2 separate regions of the Homo sapiens genome follow, and region 1 is linked to region 2. Evidence: promoter capture Hi-C in 16 types of primary human blood cells and fetal thymus (Javierre and others, 2016). All regions are on one chromosome and are shown on one strand. Each heading gives the region's core, a stretch centred on a gene start or on the middle of the fragment in contact. The rest is flanking DNA. Distances are from core to core; before and after follow the strand shown.

Region 1 (4,420 bases), core at 226-2,725, 1.3 Mb after region 2:
AAGGCAGACTGTTACTAACACACATAAATATAAAAATATTCATAATTTATTAGGACATAAACTCTTTGCAGCAGGAAGTACCTCCTTCTCAACCTCCTAGAGCAACAAAATTAATGTCTGAATCAATAGCTACTTATGAACATGATGATTTTCTAATCAATTATATTTGTCAGAATATCTACATCCTTGATAACCTTAAGTAAATGGTTATTTGAGCTAAATCTCTGGCAAAACTGAGCTTACTATTTGTAGCTCTTTGAATCTCACATGGGTGACATTCCCCCTCAAGTGTTCCTTCTTCATGTTTAAAACAAAAATGAAAAAAGACCTAGAAAGGAATTTGTTTCTAACTTGCCAAGACAATTACAATAGTTTTGAAACACTGTACATTTGAGTATGTCAATACTGAAATAATCACTAAGACTTGTGTTGGGGTATAAAAGAGCATTTTCTCAGCTACTCTTGGCCATTAAGAATCTTTTTTTTTTTTTTTTTTTTTTTTTGAGATGAGTCTGGCTCTGTTGCCACACTGGAGTGCGGTGGCGCGATCTTGGCTCACTGCAACCTCCACCTCCTGGGTTCAAGTGATTTTCCTGCCTCAGCCTCCCGAGTAGCTGGGACTACAGGCACGCACCACCATGCCCAGCTAATTTTTGTATTTAGTAGAGACGGGGTTTCACCATGTTGGCCAGGATGGTCTTGATCTTTTGACCTCGTGATCCGCCCGCCTTGGCCTCCCAAAGTGCTGGTATTACAGGCATAAGCCACCGTGCCCGGCCTTCATTTTTTTTCCTTAAAAGTTAGCAATAAAAATTCCAGGATGTTGGTCAGATTCCAATGATACTACAATGAAAATTAAGAAGGAACTGTCAGTTACCATATTTTACTCCAAAATGCATCCATTTGTGAGAATATACTTACAGTTCATTACAAATGGGAGAGTGACTACATTTTTCCACTGCATTTTAAAATAGAATATTTTTCTTTTTTCAGTATCAATCACACTTTAACATTTTCTTAGAATATGTAAACCCTTTCACTCTGTGATTTCAAGCTTTTATTTCCAGAAAACATGTTTCATTTGTTTAATTATAAAACAAATACTTTTTGAATAGTTCACAAGGCTATACTGGAAACCACTCAGTGAACTATAAGGCAAGTATTCTAAATGATAGTTGCAAAGAATACATCATTATGTAAAGAAATAACATTGCAGAGACTAGTAACTCCAATATCCATTCTCCTCTTCTTTCTTCAGTAACAGAACACTACATTTTAGTTGGACACATGTCTGCCTGGCTGCTGATTACACTATCCAGTCTTCCCAGTTATAGTTCTGACTAATGGGATTTGAGAAGTGATCTTAGGTTGTACCTTCTGGGAAAGGAACGTGTTCTCCCCTTCCTTCTTTCCCTTGGCTAAAATGCAGATGTGCTGGTGGGAGCTGGGGTAGATATCTTAGACTAGAGAGTAAAAGTTATGGGTTAGGGTTGGCAGAGTGACAAGGTAGAAGGAACTTCAGTCCCCAAATTCATACACTTCGTGGAGAAGAGGTGTCTTAGCAGCTGACAGAGAGAACACACGACACTATTTGCAACAGTAGTTAAAGCAATAACCTAATATAGATAAGTAAAAGAAATCTAGCAGAATTCAAAGTTGGCTCTACATGTCATTACAGCCATGTTGAAAGCTCAAAATATAAATAGGATATACACTTACCAGTGACATCTGTACAGTTGTCATCTGAATCAGACTCCCCAGGATCAAATACTTGGATACCCTGAGCCTGTAGCCTCTGAAGTTTGCTCTCCAACTCCCTCTTGGCCCTCAGTAAGTCCTGAATTTCATTTTCTTTGGTCTCCCTAAAAATCTTTAAAAAGAATAATTTTAATGTTGAAAGCTTTTTCATAATCAAAAAGTTGTGTCATCAACTTTAAGGGAAAAATATTTCATTCATAAAACCAATATTCATTTGGTCCTCGATTTCCTCTTTCATAGGGTGAATGTCCTAGTACCTTTACCTTACTGTTTTGCAACTGGAAGCCACTGGAATTCCAGCAGGATGCGTGTCTGTGGTGTGGGTCTGTCATGTGCACTGCATGATGTTTAGGAAATTTGTCTCTCTCCCACTAAATACCAATAATACAACATCCCTAAACATTTCCAAATGCTTTTCCCCATATGGAAACGCTTTCCTTTTTTTCGAAATTACTATTAAAATGTTCACTTTCATACGTTTTTCTTTGAAATGATCTCAAGTTTACCACGTCCAACTCAAAAATGTGAAAGTGCTCTACACTAATTCTTACAACTTTCCTGAATCCTACATGACTTACTTCTATTTATTCATCGCATTATATATTATATATACTTTTAGAATATACTATTTTATTCTATGTTGCTTTGGGGGTAAAAATGTAAGGAATTTACCTTGAATTGCCTTTTAACTTTATCTCTGTCATGTTCAAATGTTGCTGCTCTCTCCATTGCTTGGTATTTCGCTTCTAAAGCACTTTCTTTTTCTCGAAGTATCTTCTGATACGTTTTTTGAAGTGCCTAGAATAATTTACCTTGTTATTTCCTAACAAAAATAGTCTTGCTCCTCAATTTTACATTCTTATATATATACATATATATATATATATGTTACGTATCTTAGAATTTTAAGTCTACTTATTATTTTACCAATTATCAGGAACTTCATGTTGCCATTTTATTCAAAACATGATGGAAAAAAACCGCAACCATGCTTGAACTACCACAAATAAAGACCAACATTAAGCTTTCAATGGAAATTAACTTTTTTTGAAACACTGCATCAGCTCTTAAACTTCCTTATGCCTTTTCCATCTTTGTGATAGTAAAAATTACATTTTGTAAGGCTTAACTTGAAGGATAAGTAGTTCTAAGAGACTGTGTGCCTGTTGGCACTATGTCTTATTCATCTCACCATCCCTTGAGCACTTCACAGTGCCTGGTACACTGCAAGTCTCCAGTAAATGTCTGACACAATGAATGAAATAAATATGGATAAGTTTTTTCATGCCTCGATATGTGAGAAAGGAACCAGTATGTTTCACAGGGAATCAGGATTGGTGACATGAGTGACTGTGACACTTGCCAACCCTTATTGCACTCCGCCCTGTTTGGTTTGGCCTTTTCTACCCCCACCTCACAGTTGTTTCCAACGTGCGGTGTCTGTTGGGCAGTGGCTTGGATACATTGAATCAGATATTTGAAATGCACTAGTCCATTTTATACATGCAAGTGCATTAAGGTTGCCCAGTAGGAAAACTGATAAGACAACAGATAAACTGCTACACGGACTTCTTCCCAGACAACGACAATAATTACACAACAGCTAATGAGGGAGTTTAAAAACAAAAACAACAACAACAACAACAACAAAACCTGACTAGAAGAATGTCTAGTCTTGAAGACAGGAGGCTTTTTTTCTTTTAGAAAAATCAGTCTGAGGTATTTATTTCACCCCGACTGTAACGACTCCGGGAACTCTTAGGCTGCCTATAAGTCTCTCCCACAGTAAAGAGTACACAAACGACACAACAACGACCAGAGGGGCCCCAAACTGAGGGCAAAAAGTTTTAGAGATTCGTTCACAGAAAAGCAACCTCTTGCTTTATACTATTTTTTTTTTTTTGATACGGAGTCTCGCTCTGTCACCCAAGCTGGAGTGCAATGGTGCAATCTCGGCTCACTGCAACCTCCGCCTCCCGGGTTCAAGCAATTCTCTTGCCTCAGCCTCCTGAGTAGCTGGGATTACAGGCGCGTGCCACCATGCCCGGCTAATTTTTGTATTTTTAGTAGAGACGGGGTTTCACCATGTTGGCCAGGCTGATCTCGAACTCCTGACCTCAGGTGATCCGTCCGCCTAGGCCTCGAAAAGTGTTGGGATTACAGGCGTGAGCCACCACGCCCGGCTGCTTTACATACTATTTTATTGAATTATAATGGACCTGCTACATGGAGGGCATGCAATAATTGCTTTTAGCGTAAATTAATCAAATGGACTAGGGAAATTTGACTACATCTAGAGAAGGTTTTCAACCATGGTGAGATCAGGAGGCTTCCAGAAATTTTCATGTCAAGACCATTAAAATGCAAGAGCGATGAAACTTTACAAAGAAACCGACACTTGAGCCCCACTTTGGAGACCCACTTAAAATTTTTATGGTGGGGAGGGGGGTGAAACTCCTAGGAAGAGTTTGCTGAGTTGCTTCAACAGATGTCACCAGCCTTCTGAGGGGGTGGGCGCGGGGGCGGCAGTGGAGCTGGAGATTGGCATTTGCCTCCTCAGGACACTTTCCGGCTAATTTCTTCTAGGTGCCTCAATGAATAAACCAGAAATAGAAAAGCGGGGACCAGGCGCGGTGGCTCACTCCTGTAATCCCAGAACTTT
Region 2 (4,361 bases), core at 89-2,588:
AGTTAAGTGACTTGTTAAGGTCACAAACCTGTTTCTGGGTGGGTCCGGACTCTTTCCCACCATATGCCGTCACTTACAGGCTGTGAGTTTATGCCCAGCCCCCCTCAAGGAGCTGCCTCCTGCTTTCTATTGCATAATCAATATCGACACCTGGTGTAGGGGCGCTCTGCAGGGTGGGGAAGGCCTGGCCTGGAGTGAGGGATCCTGCATCTCAGCATCAGGCCCTGAGTAGGCCTCTGCCCTTGTGGTAGGGTAACCCACCCTCCTTCATAGCTCAGAGGTCTGAGGGGGTTTGAGGGAAAGACTAGAAAGCCTAGGAGGCTTCTTCTATCTCTCACCCCTCCTCACTCCCAGTCCTGTGCCACAGGATTTCACTCACAGCTCCTTCCACCCCCACCCTTCCCCTGAAAATCTCACTGCCCTGTGACTTCTCTATGTGCCACTCCCTGTGCGTCAGACCCCCACGATCAGCTGCCCACTGCCTATGGCCACCCCAATTCCTTAGAACTACACTTATCACTGCTCACCCTTCTCCTACTCTCCCCCTCTCAGAAAATGACACCACATCCAGGAAACTCGGAACCACCACTAGCCCAGCGCTCCCTCTTCCCCATTCACTCAGTCACCAAGTCCCCTCAATTTCACCACTCAAGATAGTTGTCAGACCATGGCGCCTGTCCATCTCCATTTCCCTAGGATAGGCCTTGGTGTCTGAGGCCAACCCTGCCTCATTTCCTCCTAACCCCCACCCAGGCCTTGTGCTTTGTGTACCACCACACCCAACCAAAGGTAGTTATTACTTCTTTGGCTCCCAGCACTCAACTGAGCGCCCCAGCTCTTCCTCACCTGCCGGGACACTCCAGCTGACTCCAGATTGCGACGCAGGCGTTTACGTACCAGCCTTTCTCCAGGTTCAGGGCGCTGCCACATCTTCAGCCCCGACCCGCCGCAAGTCTCATTTCCTCCTAACCCCAACCCAGGCCTTGTGCTTTGTGTACCACCGAACCCAACCAAAGCTAGTTCCCTGACTTGCTCTTTTGGCTCCCAGGAGCCTTTAGGTACCGGCCTTGCGCCAGGTTTAGGGCGCGGCCACACCTCTAGCCCCGCCCCACCGCAGGCCCAACCCAGAGGCTGCTTTCGGTTACCCTAGGGTTCCTGGGCCCTGGACTTCAACCCGGTCTGCAAGCCCCGCCCTGATTAGCTGCCTCCCGCACCGGTCGCGGCGCCCCGCCCCCAGGCGCCTAGGTTCCTCCCCTTATCCCTGCAGGGATTGGGCCTTGCAGCACCGCCCAGGCTCGGATTGGTCCGAGGTGAGACCCGCCCCTCTGCCCATTGGGCCTTCGGGACAGCAGAGGAGCAGTGTCCGGCCATGGCCGGAGCCCGCAGGCTGGAGCTAGGCGAGGCCCTGGCGCTGGGGTCGGGCTGGCGTCATGCGTGCCACGCTCTCCTCTACGCGCCGGACCCTGGGATGCTCTTCGGCCGCATCCCGCTGCGCTACGCCATACTGGTGAGAAGGGGGCGCGCCCGGCCACTTTCTGCCTGAGCCCCGCACCCTCTCTGGTGGTCTCCTCTGGGGCGCCCCTGCCAATCCCCGCTTCCCCCTCCCGCAGATGCAGATGCGCTTCGATGGACGCCTGGGCTTCCCCGGCGGATTCGTGGACACGCAGGACAGAAGCCTAGAGGACGGGCTGAACCGCGAGCTGCGCGAGGAGCTGGGCGAAGCGGCTGCCGCTTTCCGCGTGGAGCGCACTGACTACCGCAGCTCCCACGTCGGGTCAGGGCCACGCGTTGTGGCCCACTTCTATGCCAAGCGTCTGACGCTCGAGGAGCTGTTGGCTGTGGAGGCCGGCGCAACACGCGCCAAGGACCACGGGCTGGAGGTGGGACCAGCCTGGGACTCTGTCCCTTTCCCAATTTCCTCTTCTCCCAAAGCTTTCTCTCCCCCAAGAAAGCATCCCTGGAGAAAAGTCTTTGCCCCTCTGACCTTGCCCTCTCCCCAGCTTTCTTGGTGGAGTTGGGATCGTGATCATCTATACTCTGAATTAGTACTGCCAACCTGGGCTTTCTGTAAAGGTCTTTCCCACCCTTTACCAGGAGAGATCCTTTCTAGAACACACTCATCCATGTCTCTCTGCTGTTCCCTATTGACAGTGTGATAGATTATCACATTATCTAGGTGTGGCAACCTAGGTTTTATTCTTGGGGTTTGCTTTTCTTGTGTAGGAGATGTGGCCCTGATATTTCAGGCAGGGCTAGTAGATAGATTATGTATGAAGGTGGTTCTCAAAATTTGGCAGGTAGCAGAATCATCGGGGCGTCTTATTAAAATAGCGATTTCTCTCAGCATTCCTGCATTGGTGGTGGGGCGGGGGGAGAGGAAACCTGAGAATTTGTAGTTTTCAAAAGTTCCCAAATAATGCTGATGCAAATAATCTGAGGACCACATTTTGACAACCACTGGTGAAAGGGTATGAATACATCTTTGAGGCAGTAGCCACTAGAGGTTTAGAAGCAGATGTGGGAAAGATTAATTGATAGAGCTAGATAATATGTTTTGGGTCATTTTCCTGCAGAAGGTTGGGCCACTAGGCTTTAGTGAGGTGTGAGCCTTGGGCCTGGTTCTGCTGGAGTATTAAGGGGTGAGGCCTGATCTGCTGGAGAAAGGATGGAGTTAAGGGAATGAGCCACCTGGGGCCCTAGTGTCTCCTGTCTCCTTCCTTTTACAGGTGCTGGGCCTGGTGCGAGTGCCCCTGTATACCCTGCGGGATGGTGTAGGAGGCCTGCCTACCTTCCTGGAGAATTCCTTTATTGGCTCTGCGCGGGAGCAGTTACTTGAAGCTCTCCAGGACTTGGGACTGCTGCAGTCTGGCTCTATTTCAGGCCTTAAGATTCCAGCTCATCACTAGAGGCAGCCCTCCATGGACCCATGAAAACTGAGATGAGGACCTTGGTACTAGGGAGGGAGGGAAGGACGTGGGAATGTTTTCTTATTGGATCTGAGAGATGATACATGATACCAGATGAAAAGAAGGAGAAGTGTGTACCATATGTTTTGAGCAGAGGACCCTCCAACTTATGGCATCAGGGGCAAAAAGTCACAGCTTATCCCAGGCACCCTGGCAGGTTCTCAGAGCCTGCCTCCTCCCTGTTTATATGCGTACAGCCTGGTAACCCCCAGGCATGCAAATATACAATCTGTAACAACACACAGCCTGACACCTTCCCCTGGTCATGTCCAGTTTAACCTTGAAGTGGCATTTGTCACACTACCCTGGTCCCTGATTGCAAGGAGCTTCTGAAGCAAGGGTGAATCCTTCCCACACTCCTCCATGGTTGCCCTCCAGGGTCTAGCCCAGCCTATTTGTTAGGGAGGATAGAGAAACAGAGCACCCCCTGTGCTTTCTGAAAATAGACTTGCTCTTGTCTTGAGTGGTGACCAAAGCAGTTGGCTCTTAAAAGGTGGGAGAGCAGCCCAACCAATCCCCAATCCTTTTCTTCTGAAACTGAGCAGGAAGGGTAAGGAAGTGGCTAGGTCTCCTTGGACTGAGCATGGACATGAGTCCTGTGAGGACTGGTGTCTCTCCTCTAGAGCTTTCATCTTTGGGATGCCTGAGACTCCGAGACTATCAGAAGGGAATTGACCCACCCCAGTCTAGCACCACCCTGCCTTCACTTCATCTACATAAAGGTGGTATAAAAACATAGACTGGAGGAGGTAATCCATGGAGAGAGAAAAAGAAGAGGGCTCAGGACAAGGCCCTGAGGAGGCCCAATCCTAAAAGTTTGGGCAGAGGGAACCAGGCACGTTAAAGAAGACAGAAAGCGGACTATGCAGAGTGCTTGTGAGGGTTTCACTAAAACAGAGGCAAAACTGTCCATTGAATTCAGTAACATGAAGTGTTTGATGACTATGATGGCAGCAGTTTCAGGAAGGGCGGTATGGAAGGCAGGCTGTACTGGTTGAGTGAATGGAAAGTTGGGGAGTAGAACGTGTGAGAAGTTGGCCTTCAAGGGGCTCAGGTTAATAATAGAGAGCTATGGAGTCAAGGCATGTTTAAGATGGGAGGTAGAGCATGCCAATATTGATGGCAACAGTCAAGATGGTGTGATGAGAGAGATGGGAGGGGCACAAAGAGGAGGACCCCTGAAGGAGCAGAGTCCATGAGAAAGAAGGAGGGATGGGACCTTTGTAGGAAGAGACACAGTCCTGCAGCCTCATATGGCTCAATAAAACAGAAAGGGGCAAGTATAGAAGATTAGGATGACTAAATTAATGGGGAAATGATGAAGGAGTTTGAATCTCTTCTTTGTGAAATGAAGTGAGACTATCAGCTAGTTGTGGGTGGAGTGTGTTCTCAGAA

The links. The method cuts DNA at HindIII sites, captures the fragments that hold promoters and counts their contacts. A CHiCAGO score of 5 or more calls a contact.
Region 1: a fragment that was not itself captured here is called in contact with the fragment with the promoter of NUDT16 in region 2 in 1 of 17 cell types (total B cells); the score reaches 5.5 in total B cells.

What each region holds. Positions count from the first base shown.
Region 1 is chr3:132,717,275-132,721,694 of GRCh38, forward strand. NPHP3 (nephrocystin 3) reads right to left here. Exons shown (of 27, transcript NM_153240.5): 2 at 2,431-2,556; 3 at 1,720-1,870. It overlaps NPHP3-ACAD11 (NPHP3-ACAD11 readthrough (NMD candidate)), which reads right to left. Exons shown (of 45, transcript NR_037804.1): 2 at 2,431-2,556; 3 at 1,720-1,870. Among named protein-coding and RNA genes, the nearest start is that of NPHP3-AS1, 2.3 kb to the right of the region's middle. The HindIII fragment of the contact is 846 bases long and covers 1,053-1,898 here.
Region 2 is chr3:131,380,436-131,384,796 of GRCh38, forward strand. It overlaps NUDT16 (nudix hydrolase 16), which reads left to right and starts at 1,339. Exons shown (of 3, transcript NM_152395.3): 1 at 1,339-1,507; 2 at 1,611-1,880; 3 at 2,727-4,361. The coding sequence starts at 1,370. The coding sequence ends at 2,906. It overlaps NUDT16-DT (NUDT16 divergent transcript), which reads right to left and starts at 1,040. Exons shown (of 4, transcript NR_038976.1): 1 at 898-1,040. RefSeq lists enhancers at 648-917, 1,209-1,778, 1,779-2,347 and a silencer at 1,028-1,327. The HindIII fragment of the contact is 2,474 bases long and covers 1-1,930 here.